7 separate regions of the Homo sapiens genome follow, and all the other regions are linked to region 6. Evidence: promoter capture Hi-C in 16 types of primary human blood cells and fetal thymus (Javierre and others, 2016). All regions are on one chromosome and are shown on one strand. The core of a region is centred on a gene start or on the middle of the fragment in contact, and the rest is flanking DNA. Distances in the headings are between cores, read along the strand shown. Region 1 overlaps PON2 (paraoxonase 2). Region 2 overlaps ASB4 (ankyrin repeat and SOCS box containing 4). Region 3 has its middle 12 kb from the start of PON2. Region 4 overlaps PON2 (paraoxonase 2). Region 5 overlaps PPP1R9A (protein phosphatase 1 regulatory subunit 9A). Region 6 holds the start of CASD1 (CAS1 domain sialic acid O acetyltransferase 1). Region 7 has its middle 6.2 kb from the start of PON1.

Region 1 (2,700 bases), core at 113-2,612, 900 kb after region 6:
GTTCCTTACTGGAATAAAATTAACTACACATGCCATACATTTCTGGGTCAATGTTGCTGGTTAAATTCCCTCAGAATTAGCAATTCATAGAAAATTAATTGTTAAGTTATCGCACTTTCATGCCAAAAGTACAATTTAGAGTTCACAATACAAGGCTCTGTGGTATAAAGTGCCTATGAGCAGCTTCCCATCATACACTGAGGCTACAGAACTTCCTTGGAGAACAGACCCATTGTTGGCATAAACTGTAGTCACTGTAGGCTTCTCAGATAGAATGTTCTGGATGCGGAGAACCTATTCAGGGGATACAAAGTATGAATATAAGACCACCGTACATGCATGTCACTCAATCATCAATAAGCCCTGTTTTCCACAATGACACACTGATTAAGGGGACATGCTGTTGAAAATAGCAGTTACCAATCTTTTTAATGTTTAAATTAAAGTACTTTCTCCAATCTTCAAAGAAAGTACTTTCTTAAAACCATCTAGTTATTCCATGCCAACACAGGATTTAGTGTTATTATAGCAATTCAGCTTTAATAGAAATACTTTCATACTAATGTGCCTACTTTCACACTACTTCAACATGAACAAATATCACATCATGTGGTGAGCTGACAATAAATCAGATATTTTAAAAATTGCCAGTATACCACCCAAGAAGGGCACATGTCTTTATAAAAATGCCTTTTGACTAGTTTCCACCATAATTTAATACATCAAAAGATTACCTTTCTTAAAGTATTTGAACAATGTAACATTCTGCCAATTATTGGCTTAACGCAATTACAAAACCACGACATAAGCTTATTATATTATTGCTTTAAAATAACTAAACAAATCATCCCTGTGACAATTTATTGTATTATTAGTTCAAAAGGACTTGAATAATTAAGTTTAAAAAACTGAAAATATAAAAACCTCTGACGAGGGAGGATTGTTCGGGTCATACACGAAGAGCTTCTGGCCATTAGGATGACAGCCTACCCAGATGTCCCCCGAGGAAGGATCAATAGATAAATTATCCACCAGTGTATCCAGCTCAAGTACCTTCCAAATGAGAAATTGTCAAAATCTAAATGACATGAGAAACTTGATTAAATAATTTAGAGGTAACCTTCCTGCCTCTATGCATGTGAGGAAATTACACATCGCCCTGCTTCCACCTTCTAACACCAATATTGCTTAAAAGGAATGTATTAAAAACTGGTTTGGAGCCACTTTTCTTCTTCCCTGAAATTAAGAAAGTTAGGGTGATAATCGGTCTCTGTAAAAATCTATCTTAAAAACTGAACTCCTTTTCCTTTAAAAGATGCACAATGATCAGTTAGCTCAAGGAACTCAATCAAAGCAAGATAGGAAATTCTTAATCAACCTAAAATATGTGTTGTTGAGTAGGAAGAAAATAATAATGGTGTGGAACCCAATTTCTACCTTCATGTATTATTGAAAGAACTGACACTGTGCATAAACCTTCATTTGAGAATTCATCTATTAGTATTTTCAATTGTGAAAATTCTTATTGGAATTCTTCCACTGCCATCAATACTTCATGGAATGGGCCCTAAATCTGATGAATATCACTCTCAACCTGCTGCTGCATGTAATCATGGTCAGTTCTTGAGATCGCTGGAAACAGGAGCTTTCTCTAGTTGTAGGGAGTATTTAAAAACCCAGAATAGCTACACTGGCATCCATATTTTGTTCTACGTGTGGTACTCTTATAGAAAAACTATGTCATTGCAAAGCATAATAGATTACTGTCTATATGTAAAAATAAATATTTTACCTTCAACTGAGTTAAATTCATATTAGTGTGTTTTTCCAAAACATGAATTTCATGAGCCAATATGTCAGCAACATAGATATACCTTTGCAGAAAGGACACAGTGGTTAGAGCTCCATGCCAATATAAAGCTTCATTAATACAGTGTGAAAGAATAAGTCTTAATAACCTGCCAAGAAGTTAATCAATCATGGGCCCTCAAGGAATGCTTGATAAAGGTCAATTTTTATTTAAAAAGTAAGCTTTCAGAATCAATTCAGTGGTGCTACAACAATCATGGAATTATTAAATTGTTTTTCAAAAAGCTTGTAAGGAAAAATAATATAGAACATCATTTTGAATATGAAGTCCATATTTGCCACTGAAATGACAATAAAACAAATGCTTGGCTTCAGAAGAAAAGCTTTTACATTCCACAATATAATTTGATACTTCTAATTATCATGTACATATAGAAATATATGGTAAAGAACATCTTATTAAAATAGTGATCATTCCTTAATATTCAATAAAATATTTATTAATACATAGCGAATTTTAAGAGTAAGAGATAAGTATCAATGCAGAATAATCTGTCTACTTCAAAGGTGAGTGAATTAACAGACTATTTTGAGGTAATTTTACTCATTGAATTGACTTTCCATGGCACCTGCTCTGTTGAGCAATTATGTGTGAAAAGCCATGAACTCAGTGTTGCAGCAGATATAAACATGAAGAAGACACAGCCTCTCTCCTTGAAAGTTTATAGTGTGTTGGAACAAATCTCACTGGTTTGTACACATTAAACACCTAATAAGCATGAGAAATAGTTCAGGTCTAGAAATAGCTAACTTCCGAGGACACAGAAAGGCTCACCAAGGAAGGGGCATCTGCAGTGGCTGTGTAAAGAGAGATGAGATTTGAGATGAGGA
Region 2 (2,700 bases), core at 67-2,566, 980 kb after region 6:
TAGTCCTATAGAAAGTGAAAAGTAGTACAATCAATTCTAAACCATTCTTATTTATTTAGAACATACAGCATTTTTATAGGATTTAAGAAGTAACTAAATTTTATCCCTAAATATAGTCCATCTAAGCCTATATGAAAGTCAGTGTATAATTTTTGAAAAGGGAACTCAGAACTCTGCTGGCAAATAAATCACCTAAAATCTAAATAGTGCTTCCCAAATTTACAATCTACTGGGCACACCAGTAATCAAAAGTTTAGCTCATAAGCAAATATGAAATGTGTATTTTGTGAGGAAGACAGAATAAAGCTATTGGATTACAAATAAGTCTGGAAGCTCATTTCTGCTTTCCTCTGTAGCACTGGGCCCATCTCATTGAATAGCTTCTCTTACCAATTTGGCAGAGAACAGATTTAGAAGCCAGCCTCCAGAGTTCATGTTCAAACTGTGGATCCTGTCTTTCTCCAGCACCTAATCATGATTCTTAAAGTTAGAGAGCTCTCACTTTACTTTTCTAAGTTATTTTAAGCTTCATAATAAAATCTGCAGATGAAATCATGTTTTATTAATTTAAAGAAACTTTTCTCACATTTTGTAAAGCAAACATTTAAAATGTGCTGGTTGGCATTTGAGAGACCTCCCTGGGAATGGCGGAGATAATGGGTCTTAAAAGCAAAAACAAGTAAGCCAAAATTGCGTTTACCAGATGATCACTTTAAAATAAAAACGATATAAAGAAAACATAAAGAATGACTTTCTAACTGCCAAATGCAATAAGTCATTGAAAGTCAAGGGATGTCAGTGATATAACATTAATTATGAGCCAACCACTGAGTATTTAGAGTGAAGTCAAGCACAGAAGAAATCTTTAAAGAAAACACAAATGTCCCTTCTATTGGTTTTCACTGGTTACTTCCATACTGGAAAGACGAAGGACTGTCCATAAAACTGTTTCCAAAGGCTTTACCAACTTGATCTTCCTTCAGATGTATGAGCTTTTGCTCATAAATGATACAGGCAGAATTTCATACTTATCTCTTTGGTATGAAATTCCCTAGTCAGCAAGGTTAATCAGAGTCCTTTTATTAATCAGGGTAATGCACTTTAAGTACTTCGTTTATGGCCCATAGCCACTGATTCCTTGGTTGGTAGTCATATTTTTAATTAAAATAACCAATGAATGATTTCACTTAAAAAACTTTCTGGCAGGTACTCTGTTTCCTTTACTAAGTAGCAACTTATATCCCAATATTGTGAAAGCTCTTATTTCCACTCTCTGAATGAATAATTTCTTTATCACCTAATTTTCCTCTTTGCCAGAAATTCACTCTCCTGCTTTCCCATTTCCATCCTAGGGTTCTTTTCCTTTCTTCGATGTTCAAACTTTTTTCTTTTACATTTTACACTTCAAACTTGCTTTTATCCCCCCTTCCCAGGGGAACTTTGAGTTATCTGGAAAATATTAGCTATTAAAAAATAGCCAAGAATTGTGCTTCAGTCTGTAATCCTTCAGGACTGTGTAAATACATGGACACAGGCAGAGCAAATGTCTGCTAATCCAGCCACGAGCAGTGTGTGTAACCTTTGGCTGTAATAACAGAGGCTTCTCATGTGTGGGGTTCTTTTGACTCAGATAACATTATAGTTGATAACTGTTGCAGAGCCCAGGCTTAGCTGAAGGTTTACCAGAAATGTGTACATCCTCTCCAAACGCTGGAGCAGAACCAATCCCCTCTTCCAAAAGAAGGCCCAAACACTTTGCTCCTTGCTATATTTCTAGGCAGCTTTCTACCCAGCTATTGGGGCATATCTCTTTGGTTTCAGATTTAAATTAAACACACACGCGCACGCGTGCACACACACACGATTAGTCTGCATATTTTCTTTTCAGGGATAAAACTTCTCAAATTCCTTTAGAACTTTTAGCTACAAGTGATATCAGTTTGGAGGTAAACTGCATGTAGCCTTCGGATCATAGACGGCTATTTAAAGATTTGGGGGCAATGGAGTTTGAGAGTTAGAGTTGATTCTGTGGGTACTTGTTATATGAACATGGACACTTTATACTACTTAACCTCTTCCAGACTAATTATCTTCATTTGTAAAATGGAAGCTTTGACAAGACCCTCTCTAAGTTCAGATTCTGGCATGCAGATAATTAATCACATTATGAAGGTGAAACTATGTAAACAGATTATGTATCATGGTCAAAGCCACATGGGCATGGCCTGTATTTGGGAGTTCCTGTGGGTTTTGTACACAGGGGAAATAATCTCTATTTTTCTTTTCTTCTTAGTGGAGCTTCTTATTCAAACAGAACTCTTCTGCAAGGAGCTGTCACTGCACACAGACTCTAGACATGGGGTAGCGTGTGAGTGGTTTACATTAGAGGGAGGCAGCCGCTGCTTCACCTCCCACCCCTAGCTCCCATGGGCTTGGTTCCCCGGTTCTCCCTCACCTCTGTCCTTTGTGAAGTCTAAACACATAGTAAAAGGGCAGCCTGAAGTCTGCAGAGGTGAGCAGAGGGGGGCTTTTGAAAGACAAATACTAGGAATAAATCACATTCTAGGTTTCGAAGCCCTGGAAAAATTTTGCTGTGGGAAGAAGGGAGTGTGTAAAAAATGAATCTGCCTCATCAGTTAATTGTGTTTCTAGCATGCTGTGGTCATTGGTGGTTATATTTTGGGGGACAAATTCTGATCT
Region 3 (2,700 bases), core at 72-2,571, 940 kb after region 6:
CTTTTCTTTTTTTTAAACAAGGTCTTTCTCTCTGTTGCCCAGGCTGAAGTACAGTGGTGCAATCATGGTTCACTGTAGCCTCGACTTCCTGAGCTCAAAAAATCAAGTAGTCCTCCCACCTCAGTCTCCCGAGTAGGTGGGACTACAGGCATGTGTCACCAGGCCTGGCTAATTTTTTTATATTTGTAGAGACGAGGTCTCACTATATTGCCCAGGCTGGTCTGGAACTCCTGGGATCAAGTCATTCTCTTATCTTAACCTCCCAATGTGCTGAGATTACAGGTATGAGCCTCCAAGCCTGGCCAAAGAGGTGATTCTTAAGTTTTCTTAATGTTCCGCTCCATTAATGTTTATAAAGAAATGATACTAAATTAAACTCACAAGTCTAAATAAATTACTTAATAATACATTTAAAATTAGAATCACAAGACTGTTGTTCAAATAAGCTATTCTTCTACTAGACCAAATCTAAATTATTACAGGTATATAGACAATAAATATGTGTAAAATTCTTAATACTAAATTGTTGATAATACAGATTTATCTTGACATTTATATACTTAATTTCAAATATTCTTGGGGTTGAAAAATGCTTACCTACTAAAGAAAACTTACGTTATCTCACATGATTTTTGAGCTTATTTTGCTATATAATTTTGAGGTTGCTTTCTTTGCTTGATGGTGTTTCCTAGCAAACAGAGGATATAAACTGTTATATGAGTGAACCACTGTGACCATGATGATATGCACCAATCTCAAGAGTGAGCTAGCCACATACCTATCTTACATCCCTGGATTTTAGCCATATCATCACTGCATTGGGTTATCTAGAGAAACAGAAGTAACAGAGTATTTATACATAGAAAGAGAGGTTTATTTTGAAGACCTTGCTCATGCAATTACAGAGGCTTTGTAAGTCCGAAATCTGCAAGGAAGGCTTGCACGCTGGCGACTCAGGGAAGAGGTACTGTCTCAATCTAAAGGCAGTCTACTATCAGCATTCCTTCTCCCTTGGGAAAGGTCAGTCTTTGTTCTATTAAGACCTTCAGTTGATTGGATGAGGCCTACCTACATTATGAAGAGTAATTTGCTTTACGTAAACTCCACGAATTTCAGTGTTAATCTTATCCAAAAAACGCCTTCACAGAAACATCCAGAATAACATTTGACCAACTATCTGAGCATACTGGCCTAACCAAGTTGACATATAAAATTGATCATTACAGTTACTCATAATTTAAATCAGATTAGAATGTGAACTCCTCACCCAGTTGGCAACATCACTTGATTAAATTTTGTGTTTCTATGGCTAAAATAAGAAAATCTGGCCAGGAGCAGTGGCTCACACCTATAATGCCAGTGCATGGGAGGCCAAGGTAGGAGGATCACTAAAGTTCAGAAGTTTGAGAACAGCCTGGGCAACACAGGAAACGCCATCTCTACAAATAATTTAAAAATTAGCTGGGTATGGTGGTGCACACCTGCAGTCCCAGCTACTCAGGAGGCCAAGGTAGGAAGATTGCTTGGACCTTGGGAGGTGGAGGCTGCAGTGAGCCATGATTGTACCACTGCACATTAGCCTGGGTGACAGAGTGAGACCCTGTTTCAAAAAAAAATTTTAAGTAAATGTATTTCCATGTAACCATTAAGACTTTTGAACTTGCATAAAACCTACCTGAACTCTTTTATTATACTGTCTATCAATACTGTCTATCATTAAGACCATATAAAACTGTTACAAATATTTAAGTATTATCTCTGAGCAGGTGGTCACGTATGCATACTATCCTTGTTGGTTCTAATTCTTTATTAGTACTTTATTCTTTGATGCATAATAGTACTTTGTTTGTACTTAATAGTACAAAGTACTTTAATAGTACTTTAAAATACTAATACTAAGTGTTAAAACGTATTTGGTAATTTACTTAATGGTACAAAGTACTTTAATGGTACTTTGTTCTTTGATTAAATAGTATTATTAAAGTACTTTATTAATATAATATATAAATATAATAAAGTATTAATAGTACTTTATTTTTTGATGCATAATAGTTCATTGAATGGGTGTACCATAGTTTGTTTTACTGATAAAATATTATAGATGTATCTTATAGTTTACATTCTTATATGAATAGTCATTCAGATTGTTTCTAATTTTTGCTACCATAAATAATTCTTCAATAAATAATCCTGGATGTGGTTTCTTATACAACAGTACAGGTGTTTCTATAGAATAAATGCTTAGAATTAGATTTGCTGGGGTGCACATATTAATTTTAATCAATGACTATACTGCCAATTGCCCTCCAGAGTAGTTATACTAATTTAATACATAAGCAATATGAAAATACCTCTTCCCCTCATTCTTACCAGTAGATATAATTTAAAAATTTTATATTTTGCCAGACTTGCATTAAAAAAGAGTATTTTATTTTCCTTTTTATTTGCATTCTTCTGAATTCTTGTGAAGCTAAGTAACTTTTTGGATATTCATTTGCCATTTATAATTCTGCAATTGGCTTTCTTATATATTCTTATATATTATATATTCTGCAATTGGCTTTCTTATATAGAAACAGATATATATATATCTGTTTCTGGAATCTTTATCCTTTTGTGTATTGAGCTGTTTTACTTATCGTATCAATAGCTCACTATTTTAATCACTATAGATTTATAATACAACTTCACATTAGGTTG
Region 4 (2,700 bases), core at 135-2,634, 920 kb after region 6:
GGTAACCACCTCATGATTCAATGACCTCTCACTGGGTCCCTCCCACAACACGTGGGGATTATGGGAACTACAATTCAAGATGAGATTCGGGTGGGGACACAACCAAACCATATTGGTCAGTTACGTGTTAGCCATAAGATCAGATCCTAGTTATAGAGTAGTGAGCAGGGTAAATGCTGTCACTGCCTACATAAAGCTTCCTTCACTAGCTGACCACAAGGCTCACAGAACACAGACTGCAGCGGCCATACCTGACAAACAATACAGACGCAACAAAAATAGTTCAGAGAAGTCACAAAACAAGCAAGAAATCAAATGCTAAACATAGAATTACACACAAAAAAGAATAATTTACAGTGAGGGTAGGAAAGAAGAATAAATACAGGGTTCATCAGATCAAGAGGTTGACCAAAGAGGTTTTTGTTGATCTAATGTGATTTATCCACTGAAAAGCAGTAATTTCATGCTAAAATGCCATTAATGAGTGTTTTAATGTTAATGGCCAAAAAATGCAATGTGCCCAACAAGCATTTTCATATACATACCAATTCCTTTAATCAGGTGGCAGTGTGGAAGGTCTACAGATTCTACTTCTCTGGAGGCTTTAAGTCGATTTCTGTTACAAAGAAAAAAAAACAAAAAACAAAAAACTATTTGTTTATGTATTCCCTGCTTTGTTTTAGAAAGGGTTTAAAGAGGCTTACAGCAATACATAAAACACAGTTTAAGTCTAAAGCAGATGAAAGAGAAAATAGAAAGACAAGGGTAGGAAAATAAAACTGCACCAGAAATGAAGTTAAAACAAAAATGCCTATTGCAAAGTTCTATATACTGATGTGGGTTATTAAAAAAAAAAAGCCAATAACTCAACAAATAAAACTTATAATGCAAGTTCCTATGCAAATGTAAACACAGCACCATGTCACATTTCTCAGTGTTGGTGTTGTGGGAAAAGAGTTCCAGATGTAGAACCAGTAGCCCTGTCTTCCTTCTGAAGAGTCAAACGTGAAAAATGACTGTAAGCCTCACACAGAGACTGCAAAGAAGCCAAGAGAAAATGGCATTGCTCAGAGCCTGACACACCAAAGACATCCCACAAATAGTTACTAACAAAAAAGAAAAGAAGGTAGCATCCCTATGACAGTATTTTTTTAAATAAGAATGTATTTATCTTATTTCAATAGCTTTTGGGGGTACATGTGGTTTTTGGTTACATGGATGAGTGATATAGCAGTGAATTCTGAGATTTTAGTGTACCCATCCATGACAGTATGTATTGGAATAGGAAGGTTGGAGAACACCAACTAGTTCTGTAACTACTTCAGCAAAACTATTTGCTGTTGTATACCCAGAAAATTAAAAGAAGGAAATAATAAGAGAATGTTGAACTCTAATAGGATGTCTTCCCCCTCCCTCTCCACTCTAGAGGGCCAGGAAGCAGTTTGGGACAATATCTGTGGGATCTTTTGTTTTGAAGGCCACATACTATTGGCTTTCCCTTCTCTCTCACATTTTTCACCTTCTCTGTTCTCTAGAGCCATAAATAATAAAAATAGCACCTTGTAGAAACTTTACATTTTTCAGTGGTTCCCACATACCATACATTTAAGAGACGAAATAGCTATTTGCCATGTGTCCTTCTCCTGTGCATATTCCTGACAGCTTCTGAGGTCTAGACACTGGGGAAGGCTTCTGGAGTATGGGGCAGGCTACCAGTTTCTTCTAGATAACCCAGAATGACTCATAGGTTGTACCAACTACACATTTTGGCAATTCATATCAGACATAAAGTTTCTAATTAAAATGTTAATCAGTATGTATTTGAAATCATGTAACTCAAATAATGTTAAATTTTTTGAAACAATATAGCAATAAGGCAAAAAGTACAAATAAATCAATATTTAAATATAATAAAAAATAATGCATTAAATGTATTAAATAATACAAATTTTTAAATAAGGCATTAAAAAATACAATAAATCTCATGGCCTACGTGTCACAGAAGTGATTTAAGAGAGGAAAAATAAGCTAGAAAACCAAATACTGCATGTTCTCACTTTAACTGGGAGCTAAACAATGGTGCACATGGACATAAAGATGACGATGGTAGACACTGGGGACTACTAGAAGGGGAAGGGAAGGGAGTAGACAAGGGCTGAAAAACTATAGGGTACTATACTCACTACCTGGGTGATGGCATCAGTTGTTCCCCAAACCTCAGCATCAGACAATATACCCATGTAAAACCTGCACATGTACCCCTTGAATCTAAAATAAAATTGAAATTATAAAACAGAGAGAGAAAAAAAAAGTTTATGTAGCCTAATGTGGTAGTAATCTTAATTGTGATGATGAGGATGACACTGATGATAATTGTGGGTGGTCAAAGGAAATAAATAATAAAAAAGTATAATTTACCGCTGTTCTAAGTGATTTACCTCCATGCATTCATTTAATTCTTCAAACAACCCTGTAAATTAGGTAGCATTATTCCAGTTTAAAAGATGAGAAAACTGAATCAGACAAAACAATTTTCCCACGGCGCAACTTAGCCAGAAGTGCTGGAAGCAGGGAAGCTTTTGCTTTAAACTACTTTGTACTTTTCTCAGAAAGAAGTAAAGGGATCTGTGTTCTTGTCTCAGCAGTGAAACTGCCATGACCCTTGGCAGGTCAGTTAATCTCTATAGGTGTCAGTCTTCT
Region 5 (2,700 bases), core at 200-2,699, 730 kb after region 6:
GGTTGTCCACTTTTTGCTTGGGACAGAATGGATCTCAAGCCATCAGTGAGGGTGGTACAAAGTGTCTCCCTGATGTCAGAGGGGATCTTGGATAGATTTTTCTTAATTCAACTTCATGACTCTTTTATATTCTATGAACTGTTGTTTTTAGTTGTGGTGTTCATTTTTGATTGTGAGTTTTTTTGTTTTTAATGTGATTACACTGGCAGTTTAATGGAAGGTACGGCGAGGCTGGCTCAGGAACTGTTAGCCAGGTACCATTTAAAGTGACTGTCCAATTTCTCCCTTGCCATTCCTCCTCAGGAGTCACAGCAATTGCAACAATTAAAAAAATTCGACATTTCTCTTGAAGAAAAAATGGAGTCTAAAAGTTGGTTTATTTTATTTATTTAATTCTATGAAAAAGAATCTAGAAAAGTTATAAAATGCATGGGATAATAACATTAAGTTATCTTTATGGAAGTTTCCACTACCATGTAGGGAAGCTATAAATTGCTGCCTACTTAATAGCAAACAGTTACTTATTTAAAAAAGAGCTGTAATTACAGGCCATCAACTACATCCAGCAGCAGCATCATTAATAACAAGTTTATGAGTACCTACTTAGGGAGTGACCTTGTTAGAGAATCTCACCCAATGCTACATATGCTGCCATTAGTGTTACCATTCAGATTAGATTGTGATATTGTTCAGTCAGCCAGTTTTAGTTCATTTTGCATACATGATTCCCTAAGTAAAACACTTTCGTTAATACTGGATAGATACCATATGTAAACTTTTCAGCAGAAATTACAAAGAAATATGGCAAAGCTTCATCTTAACACCAAAATGTAGTTAAAAACAGCTTTGATTTCTTTTGTGAAGCTATATTGTTGTAGGTAAGACATACATCACTCAAATACTCACAAAGATAACTAAAAATTTAGATCCCAATCTAGAAAGCACTTTATAAAGTTCTATGCAAATATTAGTTATTGATTTGCTTTTGTAAAGCAACAGCAGAAAATGTTGCCCTTATCTGATTGTAATATTTCTAGAACTAGAGCTCTCTTAAAACATTTCCTGCAAAGATATTTTTCACTTTTTAAAGAAAAATGTTTCCATGCTCTCACAGGATAAGTAGAGAGAGGGCAAAAGTTCAGTCTCACTATTTAAGTTTCTGTGTAAAGGATGTTTCTATTTCTAGCACAGTTATATTTGGATTATATCGATCCGGTAATATGAGTGCATGTTCTGTATTCATCTTTTTGAAAAAAAAATTATACACAGCAGGTACACCTTCAGAATGTTAAATGAAAGCTCCTGTTCTCATAGGAATGTGTATGTTTATTTGTGCTGAAATCCTGAGGTGCATATCTATGGCTTTCATATTAAAGATGACTGAAGAGATGAAAATGATGGTCTTGTAAGTTAAAAGACTTTTACCTGCAGTCCTTAACCTTTTCTTTTTATTTATGCCCTCCTAATCCCAACTCTTTTCTCCAAACCTAGCTTCTCTGAAGCCCAAAAACTCCAACAGGCATCTCAGGCTCTATTTCTATTAACCAGCCCTGTTAACCTTCTATCCCTGCAGTCAGCGTGCCTGACCATTCTTGCAAACTCTTGGACCTGTACTTTGAAAAGGTTATTGATTCTTGACATAAATCTCTTAAACATGTGGAAAGGGAACTGCTCTAGAATAAGAAAACTCAACCTTTTACCAACTATGCTTCATTTGTCGAGGTCCTTCACCCCTGTGAAAAGCAATTTTCTTTTCCTCATGAAATGGAGATAACTTGGGTCCATCTTGCTCACTTTGCTTGGAAAGTAGGGTCCACGTCTGGACAAACAGGCCAAAGACACATGACATCTGATCTGGCTATAGGAACAAAAGACTAAACAAGCCATCCAGCAGCAGGTTGCCTCTGACCTTTCTCACAGGGTGATCTGGAGAATTCTTACAAGGTGTTTTTATTAATCTCCCTGAAGTATCTTGAAAGTAGATTCTATGTCATGTTCATGTATCCTCAGTGATTAGCATAGTACCTAGCACGTAGTCTCAGTCACTAAAGGCCAATTGATTATTAAGGGAGGTGGAGGTCTGCTTTCTAAGCTTCATTAATAATAACAGCAGCTGATTGAGCACCATTTTGCATTCACTGTCAGAATGCTCAGAGACTACCAGAAGTGATCCATGGTTTCCAGTTGGAGTAATAACTTCTCATCTGAGAGGTTATGATGATGACATATGGCTTGGGGTTTGGGGGAAGATTAAATGAAAAATATATCCCAAAGCAACTGGTTCAGTTAGATACATGGTTAAGGGAGGAACAGAGGTAGGAAGAGTCAAATCTGGTTTTGTTTCCGCTCCATCACCTGTTTCTAGTGGGAACTTGAAAAGGTGTGTGACTTCCCTGAGCCTCTTTCCTCATCTGAACCATGAGGTTCACAACACCTGCCCTGCCTCCCCCAGTCATTTGCAATGATAAAGGGAGATGATTAAAAATAAAGGGGCCTACAAATGTAAGAAATTTAGTATTAGTGGAAAGAACCATGGGCTGGGATTTCTAAAACCTGGCTTTGGCACCTAATAGCCTTCCAAGGTAAGCTCACTAGACACAGGTCCATACTATATAAAACAAAAAGGGTTCAGTTAGTGTATTTTGATGCTTTTCTTGTCAAAAGTGATGGATTTGTAGAAATTCTCTTAATGTACATACA
Region 6 (2,700 bases), core at 84-2,583:
ATCTAATATTCTATAATTTTAAGAGGGGCCTATAAGCACAAGTTCAGGAATGGCTAAATGGGAAAGTTGTAAAGAATACTTGACAACACCCCAACTAAACAATGACTCACTCTAAACAAGGCAAGGCAAGTAGAATGGCAAGCAATGTAAATAACCATTCCCATCTGGAAGGCAACAAGAAAAACCATTTAAAAAAGGTGGGGTGGGAGCGAGAGGAGAGTAGGGATAACAATGCTTTATTAAGGAAATGGAGTGCTGGCTTTATTGAGAATCACAAAACATTAACCAACGTTAGTAGCGGGGATGATTGTCATAAGCACATTAAGAAAAATTTTTTTTGGCTAGGCTTGGTGGCTCATGCCTGTAATCCCAGCACTTTGGGAGGCCGAGATGGGCAGATCATTTGAGGTCAGGAGTTCGAGACCAGCCTGACCAAAATGGTGAAACCCCCGTCTCTATTAAAATACAAAAATTAAACGGGTGTGGTGGCGGGCGCCTGCAATCTCTGCTACTCGGCAGGCTCAGGCAGGACAACCATTTGAACCCAGGAGGGGGAGGCTGCAGTGAGCGAAGATCACGCCACTGCACTAGAGCTTGGGCGACAGGGTGAGACTCCCTCTCAAAAAAAACGAATTTTTTTGGCACATCGACCTAGCCAAACTTGCGTAAATACAAGTGAGAGTCAGACTCTTTTCTCATCAACACCTACACTAAGTTAGGCTCCTTCTGTACCTTCCATTCGGAACTTTGGTGTACTTTCGCCCACCAGAACTGGGCAAACTGAGGACATTAAAAAAACGGTTTAAGAGAAACTGGCCAGAGCGGTGAGTTAAGTGTTAAGACTGGTTTCACTCCTGGGTTGGATGCCAGCAATCCATCGGCCAGCACCATCAACTGGATCCATCAATCCAATCTGGCCAGCACCCAGGGGCAGCCAGACTGACCAGCCAGGCCACGGATAGCCAGACAATAAACGACCTTAGGGTGTCCTTCGCATCCCGCTGGGCGGGTTCTGGCAGTAGAAGGCTGAGAAAGGGGAGTGTTGGGGAAGGAAGGAATGGGACGATGTGTACTTTTCTCCCGGAACTGTAGTTCTATTGCCCCAACCTGGGCTCAGGTAGCGGCCAGTAAACTAGGAGACAGCCCTAAGGCTCGCGTCCGGGCCAGGCGGGTACCCCTAGTACTCTCTCCCCACACCCCCATGGCTCTGCCGCAGCCGCCGCCGCCCGCCGGGGCGCGTGACCCGGTGACCCCGGAGCACTGGGCATCCGGACCCCCCTCGCAGGCGCAGCCGCTATTAAGGCAGGAGGCTAAAGAGGAGGAGGAAGGGGAGGAGACAGGCGTCCAGGGCGCCTGGGGAACCGGCACGGCGGAGCAGCGGCGGCGGGGCTGGGGGGAGGCCGCCGAGTCGGCCGCGGCCGAGGAGGGGCAGGCGGAGGTCGGGGGCGCCGCGGCCGCGGGGTCAGGTTCCCCGGCGGGAGGCGCAGGTGGCGGCCTGGGGAGCTGGCGGCCGCTCCTCGCCTGGCTGCAGCGGCGGCAGCCCCAGTGCTGCCCCTGTGCGGCGCCCCTTTCCCGCTCCGCCGCGCACTGTTGTCATGGAGGAACCAAGATGGCGGCTCTGGCCTACAACCTGGGCAAGCGGGAGATCAACCACTACTTCAGCGTGAGGAGCGCCAAGGTGCTGGCGCTGGTGGCCGTGCTGCTGCTCGCAGCGTGCCACCTCGCCTCCCGCCGCTACCGAGGTGAGCGGGCCCTCCCCTCTGCCCGGGCAGGCCGTGGGGGAGGCGGCGACGCGGCGGCTGGAGGCCGCCCCCATCGCCCAACACACGCCCACGCGGCCTTCCGCCGGCCCGGCCCGCGGGGGAGGCGGTTCCCCCAGGTGTCCCCAGCAGCGGCCGGCGCCCGAGGCCAACTGAGTGGACCCCAGTGGGGGCCACCAAAGGACAATGGCTGGTGGTTCTGGGCGCCCCGAGCCGCCCGCGCTGGGGTCGGGGGCGCCAACCCTGGACCTGGCCAAAAGTGCTGCTGAGGTCCGGCTCCTGAGCGGTCTGGGTTCGGGGAGACGCTCCAGATCAGGGGCTCGCGTGCAGGAAGTCGGACAGGCGGTCCTTGGGGGCAGCCCGGGGCGCATGAAGCCCAAGGCCGCCCTGCAAGGGGCACCGCTGCCAGCAGTGGGGTCGCAGGTCCTGCCTCTTAAGGGTCCGGCTCCTTAGCCTTTGTTTAATTTTGCCTCTGCCCTGTAACACCCAGTCTGGGCTGTTGGACAGCGGCAAGGGCCGCCCCCATTTTCCTTTGCCAAAAGGGCGACAGCTGGCAAAAGATGCCTGTGGCCAAATGGAAGAGGTGCCACCCAGCTTTTGTGATGCAGAAACGTTTAAAGGCTTCGGAGTGCACACTTTTTACAAAGTTAAGGCACCAGAGCAGATTTTTGGAAGGAAGTTGTGGGTTGACAGGCGTAAAGGTGGGCAGTTGAAAGCAAGTTGTAAGCACTTTGAAAGCAGGCCTTGGCCATGGGTTTTGAAATTGGTGTAAAGGGGAAAAGGAAATATGACCTGATTTGAGAATGAATTATCTTTCAGTAATCAAGGGATATTTACTTCTCCTTGCTGATTGATTGTTTTTTTTCCTTTGTAAAAATGTCACTGGGAGAGAGGCTGACAGGCAGAGGGAAATTAATAATGATAGGATCTTTTATTTTTG
Region 7 (2,700 bases), core at 23-2,522, 820 kb after region 6:
TCAAAGTGACATATCATTTTTTCCATGTTGTATTCATTCTGTTCTCTCAAGGTGAAGGAATTACACGAGGGTATGAATACTAGTCCCCATTCTTAACATGATCAAATCCTACCTGCTCCTTCAGGCACCTGTTTGCAATTTATTTCTACTAGTTTTTCCTGATGTCTAAATCTTGGATACCATTCTCATATGTCTCATTGCACCATGCTGCTTCTTTATTATTCCTGCCACTCTGTATTGTTAATACTTTATCACGGTACTGTTTTTCTCACTAGACCAGAAGCCTGTATAAAAATGCCTTGCTTGTTGTTATAGCTCTAACGCCTGGTACAGCACCTAACAAAATCTAGGTGCTCAATAAATATTGTTGAATACATGAATGAATGAATGAATGTTTAAAAGTTATTACAGAATCCTCTGGAATACTTTAATGTTCCATATTTTATTTACTGTAATGCCATCAGTGTTAAATACATAACTATCTATTATTCTTTTATTTTATGTACTACTAAAAAAGAAAAACTATAATTAATCTACAACACAATTCTAAGAAACTATTAATTATACAATAATTTCCTATTTCACACATGTTAAAATGTGCAGACAAGAGTATGAGTCCATGCTATGTGAAGATTTTAAATGTTATGAGAAGTTATGAAGGTGTTTTAAACTTAGAATTTTTTTATCACCAGAAATGTATAACCAAACATTTAAAAAGCAAACTTCTTTAAAAACTCAGATCTCACCTTGACTATTAGAATCCCTTTCCTTTCCTCCCTTGATCCTCATGTGCTAAGTATTTATTTGCACATGTTCAAATACTTCTTCCTAAATATATTTGGTAACAATCACATCAACCCATTCTTTTATTTTCCCACAAAAAGCCTAATTCACGGAGTAGTCAGTAAAAACTGTCAATGAATTGGTAGAAAGCCAGAGCCAAGTTTGCCAAGCTTAATTTTGTAGAAGTGCAAAAGGATTGATTGGGTAACTATACCACTTGGTGTTGTTCATCTGCAGAGGATGCTGAGCCCTGTTGGCAGTTGTTGCAATGTTCTCAAGTTTCTGAAAGTGTGAAATTCCAATGTTCTAAGAATGCCAATAATACCATTCTGCATGAGGCAGCTATAGTAAAGCTGGAAGAAAAAAAAACCCAAAAACCCTGGGCTTTAAATACTAAATTCATGGTCACTTCCTGAAAATTCTATAGTAGCAGAAATAACATCTGTAAAATGGAGATAATTCCTGTGGGTTTGCTGTATTAAATTTTTAAAAACCTGTGAAAGCACTATGCAGATATAAAGCAATGGCAGTGCAAAGTACAAGGTACTATCCAAGTCTGGAAGTTAGTTTACAAAATGCTTTTACCTTACATTCTCTCACAAGACCCTGGACAAGGAGATAGGATCAATACGATTATCCCCATTCATACAAAGTCATCCAATTAGGAAGTGTAGGAGCCCTAAGTTTGTATGTCTAGATATGGGCAAACCAAAACTGACGTGCACCTAAAAACAGAAACTGAAAGTACGAAAAGGGAAAGCTAACAGAACTATGTCACTTCACTTCAATTGTCTAAGCACACATCTCAAAAAGCTTAAAAATCCAAAGAAAGGAGAAGGATGGAAATGAAGATAAAATCAGCAATCAATGAAATAAAAAACAAACTTGAAGAGAGACTATCCATTGTATGAAGTGTCATTCAGTTATAAAAAAAGAATAAAGTCCTAATACATGCCACAACATAGATGCACCTTGAAATCATTATGCTAAGTGAAAGAAGCCAAACACAAAAGGCAGCATATTATAGGATTCCATTTACATGAAATAGCCAGAAAAGGCAAATCCATAAAGACAGAAAGCAGATTAGTAGTTGTCAGGAACTGCAGGGGAGAGGAGGATGGGGAATAACTACTTAATGCACATAGGTTTCCTTCTGAGATGGTGAAAAATATTCTGGCGCAAGATCATGGTGATGGTTGAACAATATTGTGAACATACTTAATGCCATTGAATTGTATGTCATTGAATGGTTAAATGATGAATTTTATACTATGTGAAATTTACTACAATAAAAACTTAGGACAAAACATTCAAAAGTTGATTATTGAAAAGACTAATGAAAGATATAAAACTGTGGTAAGACTGACAGAAAGAAAATGAGAAAGAAAACAAATTCTAAATGTGAGAAATAAAGAGGATATTACCGCAGATCCTAAATATGTAACAAAAGGATATTATGAACTACTTTATTCCACTAAATCTGCAAATTTAAATGAAAAGAATGAATTGCTAAATTTATCAAAGCATACACAAGCAGAAACATTTAATTGTAATATTTCTATATTCTTTAAATAAATGTAATCTATACTTTAAAATCCCCCTTAAAGAAATCTTTAGTCCCAGGTAGCTTCATAAGTGAATTATTCCAAACACTTAAGGAAGAAAAAATGCTAAATTTTACACTAACTTTTGGAGAATAAAAAAAGAAGAAATAACTCTCAAGTCTTTCACCAGGTGAATATAACCTTGATACTAAAACCTGACAATTAATTACAAAAAAGGGAAATTAAAATTACAGGCCAATCTTTATTATGAACATGGACATTAATATCTTAAAATATTAGTCAAGTAAGTCCACAATTATAAAAACATAATAATATCATAATCAAGTAAGGTTTATACACCATATGGGAGTTT

The links. Contacts are between HindIII fragments. The CHiCAGO score rates a contact against its expected background, and 5 or more counts as called.
Region 1: a fragment that was not itself captured here is called in contact with the fragment with the promoter of CASD1 in region 6 in 1 of 17 cell types (M2 macrophages); the score reaches 5.2 in M2 macrophages.
Region 2: a contact is called between a fragment that was not itself captured here and the fragment with the promoter of CASD1 in region 6, in 5 of 17 cell types (total CD8 T cells, total CD4 T cells, total B cells and 2 more). The highest score is 8.6, in total CD8 T cells.
Region 3: a fragment that was not itself captured here is called in contact with the fragment with the promoter of CASD1 in region 6 in 3 of 17 cell types (naive CD8 T cells, fetal thymus and non-activated CD4 T cells); the score reaches 7.3 in naive CD8 T cells.
Region 4: a contact is called between a fragment that was not itself captured here and the fragment with the promoter of CASD1 in region 6, in 2 of 17 cell types (naive CD8 T cells and M2 macrophages). The highest score is 12.7, in naive CD8 T cells.
Region 5: a contact is called between a fragment that was not itself captured here and the fragment with the promoter of CASD1 in region 6, in 3 of 17 cell types (M0 macrophages, M1 macrophages and M2 macrophages). The highest score is 5.8, in M0 macrophages.
Region 7: a contact is called between a fragment that was not itself captured here and the fragment with the promoter of CASD1 in region 6, in 6 of 17 cell types (total CD8 T cells, fetal thymus, naive CD8 T cells and 3 more). The highest score is 7.0, in total CD8 T cells.

The regions. Positions count from the first base shown.
Region 1 is chr7:95,405,195-95,407,894 of GRCh38, forward strand. PON2 (paraoxonase 2) reads right to left here. Exons shown (of 9, transcript NM_000305.3): 7 at 1,793-1,874; 8 at 925-1,053; 9 at 1-294. The coding sequence ends at 136. The region is part of intron 1 of LOC107986822 (a long non-coding RNA gene); the gene reads left to right. Among named protein-coding and RNA genes, the nearest start is that of PON3, 10 kb to the left of the region's middle. The HindIII fragment of the contact is 1,111 bases long and covers 808-1,918 here.
Region 2 is chr7:95,488,974-95,491,673 of GRCh38, forward strand. The region is part of intron 1 of ASB4 (ankyrin repeat and SOCS box containing 4); the gene reads left to right. Among named protein-coding and RNA genes, the nearest start is that of ASB4, 4.4 kb to the left of the region's middle. The HindIII fragment of the contact is 1,584 bases long and covers 525-2,108 here.
Region 3 is chr7:95,445,961-95,448,660 of GRCh38, forward strand. No RefSeq gene overlaps it. Among named protein-coding and RNA genes, the nearest start is that of PON2, 12 kb to the left of the region's middle. The HindIII fragment of the contact is 5,753 bases long and covers 1-2,700 here.
Region 4 is chr7:95,423,970-95,426,669 of GRCh38, forward strand. PON2 (paraoxonase 2) reads right to left here. Exons shown (of 9, transcript NM_000305.3): 2 at 546-616. Among named protein-coding and RNA genes, the nearest start is that of PON2, 9.7 kb to the right of the region's middle. The HindIII fragment of the contact is 2,380 bases long and covers 195-2,574 here.
Region 5 is chr7:95,241,346-95,244,045 of GRCh38, forward strand. The region is part of intron 8 of PPP1R9A (protein phosphatase 1 regulatory subunit 9A); the gene reads left to right. Among named protein-coding and RNA genes, the nearest start is that of PPP1R9A-AS1, 28 kb to the left of the region's middle. The HindIII fragment of the contact is 1,282 bases long and covers 809-2,090 here.
Region 6 is chr7:94,508,476-94,511,175 of GRCh38, forward strand. It overlaps CASD1 (CAS1 domain sialic acid O acetyltransferase 1), which reads left to right and starts at 1,334. Exons shown (of 18, transcript NM_022900.5): 1 at 1,334-1,742. The coding sequence starts at 1,610. RefSeq lists enhancers at 619-1,607, 1,608-2,594 and silencers at 1,128-1,347, 1,388-1,537, 1,638-1,997. The HindIII fragment of the contact is 8,005 bases long and covers 1-2,700 here.
Region 7 is chr7:95,329,351-95,332,050 of GRCh38, forward strand. No RefSeq gene overlaps it. Among named protein-coding and RNA genes, the nearest start is that of PON1, 6.2 kb to the left of the region's middle. The HindIII fragment of the contact is 643 bases long and covers 952-1,594 here.